4 separate regions of the Homo sapiens genome follow, and regions 1, 2 and 4 are each linked to region 3. Evidence: promoter capture Hi-C in 16 types of primary human blood cells and fetal thymus (Javierre and others, 2016). All regions are on one chromosome and are shown on one strand. Each heading gives the region's core, a stretch centred on a gene start or on the middle of the fragment in contact. The rest is flanking DNA. Distances are from core to core; before and after follow the strand shown. Region 1 overlaps SPTBN2 (spectrin beta, non-erythrocytic 2). Region 2 holds the start of PITPNM1 (phosphatidylinositol transfer protein membrane associated 1). Region 3 holds the start of RHOD (ras homolog family member D). Region 4 holds the start of LOC100130987 (a long non-coding RNA gene).

Region 1 (3,061 bases), core at 369-2,868, 360 kb before region 3:
GAACAGCTGGGTGGGAGACCAAGAACCAGGGACGGCAAGACTCGAAAATAAGGATTGGCAGACTACATACAGCCCACGGGGTAATCTGGCCCACTGCCTGTTTTTACAAATAAAGTTTTATTGGGAAACAGCCATGTTCATTCATTCACTTATTCTCTGAGGCTGCTTTTGCACTACAACGACAGAGATGAGTAGTTGTAGTAGAAACTGTTTGGACTGCAAAGCCTCAGATATTGACCATCCAGCCCAAGCCCTTTCCAGACAAGGTTTGCAGAGCCTGCTGAAGAGCACCATCCTGCTTTGAACTCAGGAACAGTTATGGCGTTAAATCCAGGCTGCAGTTTCGCTACCTGCTAATTTGTACTTTATCAAGGTTCTGGACTCACTGTCCCACTCTTTGTCTCCAACAAAGACGTTTGTTTCCCAGAGGCCATAACTTTCCACCATGGAGCTGTGGCACCAGAACCCCACAATCTCTAACCATGACAAAAACCACGTCCTGGAGCCAGGCCCTCCCCCGTACCATGGGGGACTCTGCCCAGAGGCAGCCCCCACAGCACTGCTCACCTTGTCCACCTTGTCCAGCCAGTCTTTGTTGGCAGCCAGCTCGGCCATGAATGCCTGGTGCTTCTGCCACTTAGTATGCAGGTTGCGGGCCTCGTCATAGGACACGTCCTGGGCTGTCAGCATCTTCTCGTCGATCCAGAGCTTCAGCTGGACCAAACATAAAACAGGGACATTTCCAAGGGAGGGGAGAGGGGGGCATAAAAGCAGGGCCACAGTGAGCCAGGAGAAGTGGGCGCCTTGGGAAGAAGCCATGAAGGGGCTCACAGTCTCCGGTACCTTGTGCTGGACTTATTCTAGGCTCAAGGTGAGAAAGGGATGGCTAGGGAATATCCCGGGGCCCCAGGGAGCCTCACCTCGTGACAATCTTGCAGGAAATGCTGCTGCTCCCGGTTGTCCCGAAGACGGCCCAGAAATTGCTGCGCTGCGTCTTGATTCTTCTTGTGCCTGGAACGACACCCTCTTGTGAAACTCTGGAATTTGCTGTGAAAGGATTGTGACCCTTTGGCTAACCTAGGGGCCTCCATTTCTTCTAGGGGAATAACGCCTTCCGGGAGCACAATGAGGCTACCCAGGAATCCTGACTTCCTTTTAGCCCTGGTTGGGGGTGGAATCTCCCAGCCCTCTCCAACCACTTAGTTCTTCCCCTCTACTTCTCTGTCAGCTCCTGCCCCATCTGTGGGTTTCCTGTGCCACGTTTATCTTTGAGGTCACCCTGTTTCTCCGATTCCCCCCTGGGAACCCTAATTCATGGACTGTCCTCATCAGACCTCCTCTCAATGGAGTCTGCCTTTTCCCGAATCTTGTCGGCGTGGATGTTGCCTTCAGATACCAGCTGGCGGCCAGCCTCCAGGAGCCCGTGGATCCGTTCCCCATTGGCGTCCATGGTGCTCATGAAGTCCTCCAGTTTTTTAATGGCAGCATCAGCAGCCTGGAGTGTCCCTGGCATCTCCGTGTGAGACAGAACATATTCCTGTGTGGGAGGGATGACATTCAGCTCATTTTCCCCAGCACAATTCACCCCCCTAGGAGGGACCCACCCAGGGGCAAATCTGAGAGGTAGGGACCAACAAGCAGACAGGGAGGGTAGCCCAGAGAGCTCTGAAGACAGGGAGGCTGCCAGCCAGCATGGGAGCCTCAGAAAGTCACAGGGAAGCTGGGTGGGAAGGACCTTCCATTCCCCAGCCCAAATCCTGTTCTATCTCACTTCTAGCTCCTGATTCCATTTAACAGTTACATGACAAACTGGGCTTTCTATTTCTTCTAAAGTCAGTTTTAGTAAATTATATTCACGTCTTTTTCATTCTCATTTTTCCTTCTTTTTTCTTTTTCTTTTTTTTGAGAGAGGGTTTCATTCTGTGGCCCAGGTTGGAGTGCAGTGGCATATCATAGCTCACTGCAGCCTCAAACTCCTGGCTCCAGTGATCCACCAGCCTCAGCCTCCCCAGTAGCTGGAGCTACAGGCATGCACCACCATGTCCAGTTAATTTTTTTTTTTCATAGAGATGGGGGTCTCACTATGTTGCCCAGGCTGGTCTCAAACTCCTGAGCTCAAGTTATTCTCCTGCCTCGGCCTCCCAAAATACTGGGAGTACAAGTGTGAGCCATCCTGTCTGGCTCCCATTTTTCTTTTTAAAAAATTCTTCTATTTTCTTAAAAAAATTTTTTTGTAGAGACAAGGTCTTGCCATGTTGCCCAGGTTGGTCTGGATATTCTCAGCCTCAAGTGATCCTCCTACTTTGGCCTCCCAAAGTGCTGGAATTTCAGGTGTGAACCACTGCGCTGCCCCATTTTGCTAGCATGTCCTTCCTGCCCATCCTGCTCCTTCACATTTCCCCGGGTCCCTACTTTGCTCTTCCTCCTGCTTGGGACTTTGCCCTGGACTTTCACCTGGCTGCTGAGCACGCCCTCAGCCTGACGAGCATCCCGCAGGAATCCCTGGAAGCCGTGGGCCTGGGCCAGGCGACCTTGCCGGCTCTCCCACATTCGGCCCAGCTCCTCCCAGCCAGTTCCCAGGGCCTCCAGTCGCTGTCGTAGGAAGAGGCACTGGGGGTCAGCCTGGTCCCGGGTCACCTCCTCGCCCAGGGCTCGCAGCCGGCTATACTCGCTCTGGGCCCGCTCCACCTCTCCCCGCAGGGCTGCATGTTGGGCCAGGAGGGCCTCTGCCTCAGGCAGGGTGGCCGGCCCTTCTTCAGAGGCCACAGCAGTCTGAGTGCGGCCTAGCCAGGCCTGGAAGTCATCCAAGCTGCGCAAGAAGTCCTGCAGCCGCCGCGCCTCCCCCAGCGACTCTTCTCGACGCCGCATGGTGGCCCTGAGGTCCTCCCAGCCGGTCTGCACCTCTCTCAGCCGGGCGTTGATGGCCACTGCCTGAGCGGGATGGCCGGCAGCCAGGGCATTTGCCTCTCGAGTCAGTTCGCCCACCCGGGCGGCGATGGCCTCCAGGTCCCGCTCCGTGCCGGCCAGCTTGCGCTGCAGGGCCAGCACCCCAGCCAGATCG
Region 2 (3,146 bases), core at 429-2,928, 450 kb after region 3:
CTCCCATCCTTGCTGCCCTGTCCCTGCTCCAGGTTTGACACCTGGTCCTCACCACATCTCCCTGACCTCCAGGGATGGCCAGGACCCTCCACTTCTCCAGACCCCCTCCCGCCTTCCTCTGCCGCGGAGGCCCCCCTCCTCATTCTTGCCGCCTCCTGGGCGCTTTTTCCTTCCCCGATGGGATTACAGATCCTGAGGAGGATTACAGGAGATCAGAGGAGGGCTGGGCACTTAGCGGATGGGAAGCACCACTCGGCCCTCCTGCCCCTCTTCCCACAGTCCTTCCCCATTCCCACATCTGAAGGGGGGCCTCTCTTGCCTCCTCCGGGCTCCCAGCCGGTCCCAGCCCCGGGGCAGGGCTGGCGGGGTCGGCAGGGCTCCACCCCTTGCCCGGGTGCCCTCTCCCCGCCGCCCTCACCTGGATCATGTAGAGCTGGGCCACCTGGTACTCGTCCAGGCTCATGGGCAGCAGAATGTGGTATTCCTTGATGAGCATCCTGAAGGCGCTCGGCGGGCCGCGCGCGGCCTCCGCTCCTCCTGGCGCAGGGCACGGCGCGACAGTCAGTGCGGGGAGGCTGCGCGCGGCCCCGAGCCCTGCGCGCCGGCCGAGGGACTCAGGCCACGGGACCCCATGTCCGGGCCCGCCACGAGGGAGGCAGAGGCGAGCCTAGCACCGCCGCCCGCGCCGCCGGGGCCGGGAGCCGCAGCGAGGCTGAGCGCTGACCTCTTTTCCGCGCAGCCCCCGCCCCCCGCCCGCCCGTCGCCATGGCAACCGCGCGCTGACGCGGGCCCCCCGGAGCGCCAGGCTCCGGCCGGCGGGCGGGAGGGCCACCTCACCTCTCCCGCTGCGACCGCGTCCTAACCCCGGGAAACGGCATCCCTCTGGGCGCGCCCCCGAAGCCCCGGGGCCCCTCCTTCCGGGCCCGCCTTCCGCGACCGGCCCCTCGGGGACCCGCCCCTTGCATCCCCTTCCCGGAGTCGGCGGGGTCCCAAGTCCCCCACTCTCGGACGTCCACCTAGAGCTTTGTTCCCCGAGTGTCTCTGCGCGGAGTGGCCCAGTGCGCCCAGCATCTCTGCCAGGGTTCCCCACGCCCTGCACCCGAACCTACCTTCCGGGACCGGTAATCTCCTCCGCCCTCCAGATCTGCCTTCTTGGGCAGCCGGGTCCTCGACCTCCCCCTCCCAGCATCCTTCCTGGACCCCTGGCCCTCGCCGGCTCTCCACGCGCCTAGGCAGCCACTCCGTCCTCTTCCCAGGGGGTGAGCCCTCCTCAGGCTGAGGCCAGAGTGGCTCCACTTGGTATCCCACGGGCCATGGCCCTGGAGACCCGCTCCGTCCACCTGCGCCCCAGACTGGCACCGAGGTTCCGCTGCAGGCACCCCTCCATCCCCCACTCGCACCCCGCGAGCAAGCGAGAGGCCCCGTTGTCCCCACTTCCCTCTGCTCGCCGGCGTCCCGGTCCCCTGCCGCGCTCTTGGCCCGCCTGCCGACGCCCCGGCTCACCTCTAGCTTGAGGCGGGCGCCCCTCACCCAGCCCGGGCAGGGCCGGCCGGCCCGTGGGTCGGAGCCCGGAGCGCCCCCAGCCCCGGCCTCGGGTTCCAGCGGTGGCCGGACCCTCCCGAGGCGCAGTGCCGGCCCATGGCCCCGACCTTCCTCTCGATCCGCCCGCCGGCGCCCCTGCAGTCCCTCCCCGACGCCCGCCGCGTCACTGCGGCCGCCCCGCCCCCTTCCTGGGCCCGGCTGGCCCTCCCCACCCCGGCGGGGTCCGGGCAGCCCCGCCTGCAGCGGAGGAGGCAGGGAGGGAGGCCCCTGCCTTCCTTCCCCCGGGCAGTGGGAAAAAGGCCATTGCCTAAATTCTGGCTCTTCCTAGTCCCTCTGTGCTGATTGGGGTCCCCAAAGACTCTTAGTTCCTATCTCCACCCTAGCCCAGCCCTCCTGTGTGCAGTCACAGGGTGGTTTGATATGGGGGGTCCCAGGCCCACTCTCCTCTTCTCACTCTCTGCAGTCCTTAGATTTGGGACCCAGGGTTGAGGAAATGCCTCCCCACCAGTCTAGCCAGAAGCTGGTGGCTCTGACATGCCTCCACCTAGGGCTGGGCTCGGCTCCAGGGCCCCAGGCCTCTATGGTCACCCAGCTACACGCCCAGGCAGAAACGGGCTGTCACTGTGAGTGGCTGGGCTAGCCCCTGCATGGTGCCACAAAGCCTCCCCCACCTCTGCCTTCCGGGTCCACAAGTCCGGTCACCCAGCCACCCGGAGTCTGGGCAAAGGCCTCACGAGGCACCCCAAGGCTGGGTTCATGGGATCCCACCCAGCCTGCTACAAGGTGCTGGGGCAGTGACGGCAGCACCCCGCCAGCCCCTCCCCTTGACACTGAGGCCAAGTGCTGGAAGCAGCAGTGCCCTTTCTCTCTGAGAAGTCAGAGACCTTCAGGGCTGATTCAGAGGCTGGGGTGTTGTCAGGGCATTAGGGCGTGTGAGGGAGTGGCTTACGTGAACTGGCATTTCCATGCTGCCAGGCATCACCGCCAATCCAGAGGAAGCGCCCTCCAGGCCCAGGCTGCCCACAGCGCCAAGGGCTGTGGAAGCAGCCAGGCCCTGTGCTGCCCCCTGGTGGCACCACAGGAAGGCCCAGGGCTCTCAGCGCCACGGCTGGGGCGGAGAGGGCCCAGGTCCCACCAAAGGCTGATGGCCTACAGAGGCAAGTCAAACCTCATTTAATCACACCCTCCCCATCCATAGTCTCCTCTTCCCCTGTCTCTGCCTGGCCCACCCAGGCTTAGCTGAAGAACCAGACCCAGAAAGGCTCAGAGCTGAGAGCACAACTCCAAATCATCTTTTATTAATATAAAAAGGGCATATTTAGCAAAAGACACACAGATAAAAGAGTCACTATGGCTCAGGACACAAGGCAGGGAGGTGCCAGGCCTGTGCCCCTGCTGGGGGAGAAGGAGGCTCGGGACAAAGTGGGAGAAGTGCTGGGAAGGGCTGAGCGGTAGGGGCCACAAAAGTTCCGGTGGGCAACACTGTCGGCAGGTCATGGGTGGGACTCATGGGGACCTCGCTGCTAACTCTTGTTGTGGGGGGGTGTCCTTAGTGCTGCCACCTGGAGGGCCACTCCTTGGTTCCTGGAGGGGACCCACCAAGG
Region 3 (2,803 bases), core at 157-2,656:
GTGGCAGTTTCGGGGAGGAAGGGGCACCTGGAAAGGCAGAGCTGTGCTGGGGAGGATCCTTCCCTCCAAGTGGGGCTCCATCCAGCCTGCAGACCACAGCCCGGAGCGGGAGCCGGGCAGAGGAGTCAAGGAGCTGGGCTCTGCCTCTCCACCTAGTGACTCCTGCCCTGGCTGCCTCTTTAGACCACAGTGAGTTTAAAGGAGGTTGAAGGTGCTTTTTCACCTGCCTGACTTGGAACTCCATGAGGGGGGATGTCATGACCAGCATAAATTAGGGGGAACCTAATGACGTCTGCCCCTTGTTCTTTTAAGCTTCAATAGAAACACTCAGTCCAAGATCTGGGAAGACCCTTGTGCCCATTTTTAAAAGATTTCAACTCTGGCCATTAGGAGAAGTGGAGAGATCAGGTGACAATGAGTTCCCAGTTCAATGCTGGATTTACTGCTGGCATCCAACGTGCTCCACTGAGCAAGCACCAGCTCCTCATGCTGCACCACTGTGCAAGCGAGCCTCACCCTCTGCGGGGGCGGGGTGGGGGGGCAGCATTCCGCTCCGGCCTCCGCAGCTTCGCACGTGCCGCTGTCTCCGGTGGAACACCTTTTCCCTCCCCCATCTGACTGTGTTTCACTTTTTCCTCAAGACTCTGAAAGGTTTCCTGACTCCCTCAACGTGGGCGAGGAGCTCTTTTCCCCTACTCCCGTCCCGCTGCCTGTCCCTACTCCCGTTGTAGTTCTGATCACACTGATGTCCTGCGTGTCTACCATTCTAAGCCGTGGGCTTCTCAAGGCAGGGCCTGGATTTTGTCTTAAACAGTTCAGGGTCCCCGGGCCCTTGGGCACCAGGGGGACATCTCATGGTGCAATAATAAGAAACACTCACACTTTACAGAGGGAAGGTTCTATCGCTTTCCCTAGATCGTGGCCAGCCACGGTGTCAGGTGGCTGCCCACCTGCAGCAGAGCTTCCTGGTGCTGCGGGAGGGGGCAGGCCAGGCCTGGTGGGGCCAGTGAAGGGGGTCATCCCCTTCCCACCTGGCATGAAACGCCTGTGTTGTGCTGCGTCCTGAGACCCCTGGGGAAATGCACCATTCATTCATTCATTCATTCATTCACTAAAGGTCACTGGCTCCTGCCTGGGATCTGGGACCCAGCCCCTGAGCACACCCCCGCCCCCACTGTCATGGTCCCGCTGTTTGTCTTCTCCCTTCCGACCTCCCGTGGCCCCAGCGCGGCCAGCTCACAGTAGGTGCTCGGGCAGCGTTTCTTCAGGGACCTAGACGGCCTGGAGAGGAAGGGCCCCAGCCCAGCCGCCCGGGCCTCTCACCTGGCTCTCGGGGCGCCCGGCTCGCACTTCCTCCCGCCGCCCCGCCCCTTCCACATTCCTGCCCCGCCGGGCCTGCCCCGCGCAGTCTGGGTCTCTGCGCCGCAGCCGCCCGCCCGCCCGCTCAGCGCCCGGCCCCGGGATGACGGCGGCCCAGGCCGCGGGTGAGGAGGCGCCACCAGGCGTGCGGTCCGTCAAGGTGGTCCTGGTGGGCGACGGCGGCTGCGGGAAGACGTCGCTGCTGATGGTCTTCGCCGATGGGGCCTTCCCCGAGGTGAGTGCCCCGCGCCTCCGCCTCGCCCGGTTCCGCTCGCGCGCCCGGGTGTACAGGTCCGTGCCGGAGCGGCCCAGGCTGTGCGCCTAACCCGGCCTCCGAGGGGTGTCCCAGCGGGGCCTGGGGTCCAGGGCAGAGTTCTTCCGCCCCAGCCATTGGGAATGAAGGCCTCAGTGATGTTATCTGTAAAGCCGGAGGAATGGCATCCACCGGGGAGAGGTGTCACAAGGACTGAGTGAGGCGACCTGGGTGCACACAAGATCCTAAGACAGCACTTGGCCACACAATTCCGCTGAGGGCCTGAGAGCTTGGAAGCCAGACTGCCGAGGTTCAAATTATGGCTTTGCCTCTTATAGCTGTGTGCCCTTGGGTAAGTCCCCTAACCCTGCTGTGCCTGTGTCCCTCACTACATCACAGGTGAGTGACAGTGCCCACCACACAGGGTCACTGTGACAGAGAGTTAATAGACCTCAAGCACTCAGCCCCGGCCTGTGCACAGGAAGGACTCACGGAGAGTTGGCACATGTCGCTCCTGGGAAACATTGTCTCCCTTCCAGCTCTTGCCGCTGGAAAGCACATGCCATGGGCTCTGCCTTGGAGGGTGGGAGCACGCCAGCTGTAGCCTCAGCTGCTGGGCCCGCGTCTCTGCTCTCCTCTGAGCCCCGTGCCCTTTTGTAACCTGCTTAGCTTCTCTGAGCCTCAGTTTCCTCACAACAACCCCATGGGGTAGAGGGACTGTAGGGCAGTGGTGAAGTGGAGCCCAGGGGAGGCTGACAGGCAGCTCCCGTGCGGTAGCTGGCATGTCCTTGGCGCTGTAGGCATGCCCACCGTTAATCCTTCCTGACATGCTCACTGACTGCCCAGGCAGACTCCACGGGCACCAGGCGGCCCCTGCTCTGCCGCCTCTCAGCCCTGTTGTCCTGGGAGTCCATGGAGTTGCTTCCAGCATCTCTTCTTTTTTTTTATTTTTATTTTTTTTGAGAAGAGTCTCACTCTGTCACCCAGGCTGGAGTGATATTGGCACAATCTCAGCTCACTGCAACCTCCGCCTCCTGGGTTCAAGCGATTCTCTTGCCTCAGCCTCCTAAGTAGCTGGGATTACAGGCGCCCACCACCACGCCTAGCTAATTTTTAAAATTATTTTATTTTATTTTATTTTTGAGACGGAGTCTCGCTCTGTCGCCAGGTTAGAGTGCAGTGGCACAATCT
Region 4 (2,904 bases), core at 188-2,687, 260 kb after region 3:
ATGGCGCAATCTTGGCTCACTGCAACCACCACCTTCCAGGTTGAAGCGATTCTCCTGCCGCAGCCTCCCGAGTAGCTAGGATTACAGGTGCCCACCACCATGCCTGGCTAATTTTTTTTGGTATTTTTAGTAGAGATGGGGGTTTCACCATGCTGGCGAGGCTGGTCTCGAACTCCTGACCTCAGGTGATCCACCCGTTTCGGCCTCCCAAAACGCTAGGATTACAGGCGTGAGCCATTGCGCCTGGCCAACCCAATATCTTTGGTCACCAAAGTCTTACGTGTTGATAATTGTGATGGTGTGAGAGCAGAGGAAAAACGCCATTTGAGTTTTCCCCCCAAATAGTACATAAAAGATTTGCCTCATTTAAAAAATAACCACACATGTTCTATTTTATGGAATCCATCAGTTAAGTGGTCATTTATTGATGAACATTTAGGTTGTCTGAGGGCTCCCCCCCGCCCCCATTCCAGGTAATGCTTTATAAAGCACTTTTGTGGCCGGGCGGGGTGGCTCACGCCTGTAATCCCAGCACTTCGGGAGGCCAAGGCGGGTGGATAACGAGGTCAGGAGATCGAGACCATCCTGGCTAACACGGTGAAACCCCGTTTCTACTAAAAATACAAAAAAATTAGCCGGGCATGGTGGCGGGCGCCTGTAGTCCCAGCTACTCGGGAGAATGGCGTGAACCCGGGAGGCGGAGCTTGCAGTGAGCCGAGATAGTGCCACTGCACTCCAGCCTGGGCGACAGAGAGAGACTCCATCTCCAAAAAAAAAAATCTTTTCTTTTTTTTTTTTTGTGCCACGACGCTGGCTAATTTTCATATTTTTAGTAGAAGAGGGGGTCTCGCCATGTTGCCCAGGCTGGTCTCTAACTCCTGACCTCAGGTGATCCACCCCCTCCGTCTCCCAAAGTCCTGGGATTACAGACGTGAGCCACCGCGCCTGCCCCAATACCATCGTTTTCTAGAAATGAGGAAACTGAGGCTCAGAGAAGTAACTACTAATCTCTAACAGAGCCGGAATCAGATCCTAGGTTTCTAGATTCTCATTCCAAGAGACTAACGCGGGAGCGGGGAAGGTGGCTCCTGGGCAGTCAACTGACTGCACATTTCCGCCCAAGGCGGGACCTGGATCCAGAAGTGCTTGGAGCTCGCGGGTGGGAGGATCAGGATGACTGCTGCTCCCGGAGCCCGACTTCAACTCCCACCGGGCATAGGAGCCTCTCAGCAGCGCGAGGGGTCGCCCAGCCTGGACCTGGAACGCTTGCAGCACGACCGTCGCGCGCTTCCCTCCGGAACCAGCTCCCACCGTCACAGCCCCCTCCCTCGGCCGCTCCCGGCTCAGCCCAGGCTGGGGCGGGGCCTCGGAAGCAACTGCCCTCGCCCTAGCCAGGGCTGCCGCTTGTTAGGCCAAGTTTTCAAACGGCAAAATCAACCGCGCTGAAGAGACTGTGCCTCCTTCTCTTCACTCCGCATCCCAGACGCCTCAGAGAAACTACCTTTCAGACCTTCGCGGCCTCTCCTGCGCCCGCAGCGCCCGGCAGCTGGGGACCCGGGCTTAGCCACATCGACCGCAACGTTCGCGCGCCACCTTGTGTCCATTCCCTTAGCCTCCAGGGACAACCCGGAAACCACATTTCCCAGCGTGCCGAGCGCCTCTGCGCAGGCGCAAAGAGTTTCCCTCGTTGCCATGGGAACCTCGCCCCTTCTAGAGTCCTGGCCGCTTGACTCAGCTAAGCGCGAAGGTGTTGTTTCTTCCTGAGGTGCGCTGGGGCTGGGACCCGGTCTGCAGAAGGTCCAGGGGATGGCGTCGGGGGATTGAGGAGAGGAGACCAAGCCGGCCTTGCCTCCGGGACCAGCGCTTCCAAATTCTCTGGGGCGTCCCGGCGCGCACACGCTCCTGAGGCCTCGGCGTTCTGAGGAAAGGGGCTGGCGTGGCGACCCGGGTCCTCGAGGCCGAGATCTGGCTGTGGCCCGCGAAGCCCCGCTTGCCCGCGCCAGCGTCTTGTCACCCCGAGCCGAGGGCCTGCGCGCGGCCGACAGGTACTCCCGGGCGCTGGCAGCCCACGGGGAGGGTTCGCGGCGCAGGTGAACGCGGAGGTAGAATCAGACAGGGCAGTGAGTGCGCCCGGGGCTGGATCTGGCTCAGCCGCTGGTGGATTCGGAACCCGGGAGGCCCCCAGGCCCGGTGGGCTTCAGTTCCCACGCTCTGTAAAATGGGGCTTGGACTGGAATTCTAGTGTCCATTGAGATTCTGTTGCAGAGCAGCCCCCTGGCTCTGTGTGACCTACGAGTTCCTTCCTCTGTAAAATACGGAGGCTGAGACCGATGATCCTAACGTCTCTTCCTACGGTGCAGTATGTTACACACTGCTGGCCCCATTGCCCCTTATTGCACCCCAAGTGCAAGAAGAAAGAAGGGGACCTGGGATGATCTGAGCAAGACTCTCAGCTTGGGATCTAGAGTCAGAGAAACTTGGGTTTGTGACTTTGGGCAAAGTTAGGACATCTCTTGAGACTCAGCTTCTTCATTTGCAAGATTGGGGATAATGTTAATACTACCTCAGGTTTTTGAGGATTAAATGAGATGACGCATGTAAGTTTTTAGCCCAGGGACTGCATAGAGGAACTGCTATCCCAGGTCCCAACTATCGTTTCTGATAATTTCTACAATAGTCCCTAGCCACCATAAGACCTTTTCTTAATTTTTGAATTCACTTTATTTCTGGGCAAGTTCATTCTCCTAAGCAGGGCGGTTTTTTGCTTTTTGTTCGTTTGTTTATTTTGAGACAGGGTCTCACTGTCACCCAGGCTGGGGTGCGGTGGCGTGATCTCTGCTTACTGCAACCTCCTCCTCCTGGGTTCAAGCGATTATCGTGCCTCAGCCTCCTGAGTAGCTGGGA

Evidence for each region. The method cuts DNA at HindIII sites, captures the fragments that hold promoters and counts their contacts. A CHiCAGO score of 5 or more calls a contact.
Region 1: a fragment that was not itself captured here is called in contact with the fragment with the promoter of RHOD in region 3 in 1 of 17 cell types (total CD8 T cells); the score reaches 5.9 in total CD8 T cells.
Region 2: a contact is called between the fragment with the promoter of PITPNM1 here and the fragment with the promoter of RHOD in region 3, in 1 of 17 cell types (erythroblasts). The highest score is 5.1, in erythroblasts.
Region 4: a contact is called between a fragment that was not itself captured here and the fragment with the promoter of RHOD in region 3, in 5 of 17 cell types (endothelial precursors, erythroblasts, M0 macrophages and 2 more). The highest score is 8.5, in endothelial precursors.

What each region holds. Positions count from the first base shown.
Region 1 is chr11:66,698,072-66,701,132 of GRCh38, forward strand. It overlaps SPTBN2 (spectrin beta, non-erythrocytic 2), which reads right to left. Exons shown (of 38, transcript NM_006946.4): 17 at 2,455-3,061; 18 at 1,335-1,537; 19 at 921-1,011; 20 at 568-714. Among named protein-coding and RNA genes, the nearest start is that of RBM4B, 22 kb to the left of the region's middle. The HindIII fragment of the contact is 3,288 bases long and covers 1-3,061 here.
Region 2 is chr11:67,503,685-67,506,830 of GRCh38, forward strand. PITPNM1 (phosphatidylinositol transfer protein membrane associated 1) reads right to left here and starts at 1,679. Exons shown (of 24, transcript NM_004910.3): 1 at 1,504-1,679; 2 at 419-537. The coding sequence starts at 496. CDK2AP2 (cyclin dependent kinase 2 associated protein 2) reads right to left here. Exons shown (of 4, transcript NM_005851.5): 4 at 2,813-3,146. RefSeq lists enhancers at 1-137, 138-887 and silencers at 666-765, 846-965, 976-1,135, 1,346-1,975. The HindIII fragment of the contact is 23,305 bases long and covers 1-3,146 here.
Region 3 is chr11:67,055,441-67,058,243 of GRCh38, forward strand. It overlaps RHOD (ras homolog family member D), which reads left to right and starts at 1,407. Exons shown (of 5, transcript NM_014578.4): 1 at 1,407-1,594. The coding sequence starts at 1,463. RefSeq lists silencers at 1,306-1,465, 1,476-1,545. The HindIII fragment of the contact is 21,888 bases long and covers 311-2,803 here.
Region 4 is chr11:67,316,153-67,319,056 of GRCh38, forward strand. It overlaps LOC100130987 (a long non-coding RNA gene), which reads left to right and starts at 1,687. Exons shown (of 4, transcript NR_024469.1): 1 at 1,687-2,045. RefSeq lists enhancers at 1,318-1,367, 1,408-1,837 and a silencer at 2,058-2,107. The HindIII fragment of the contact is 3,873 bases long and covers 1-2,904 here.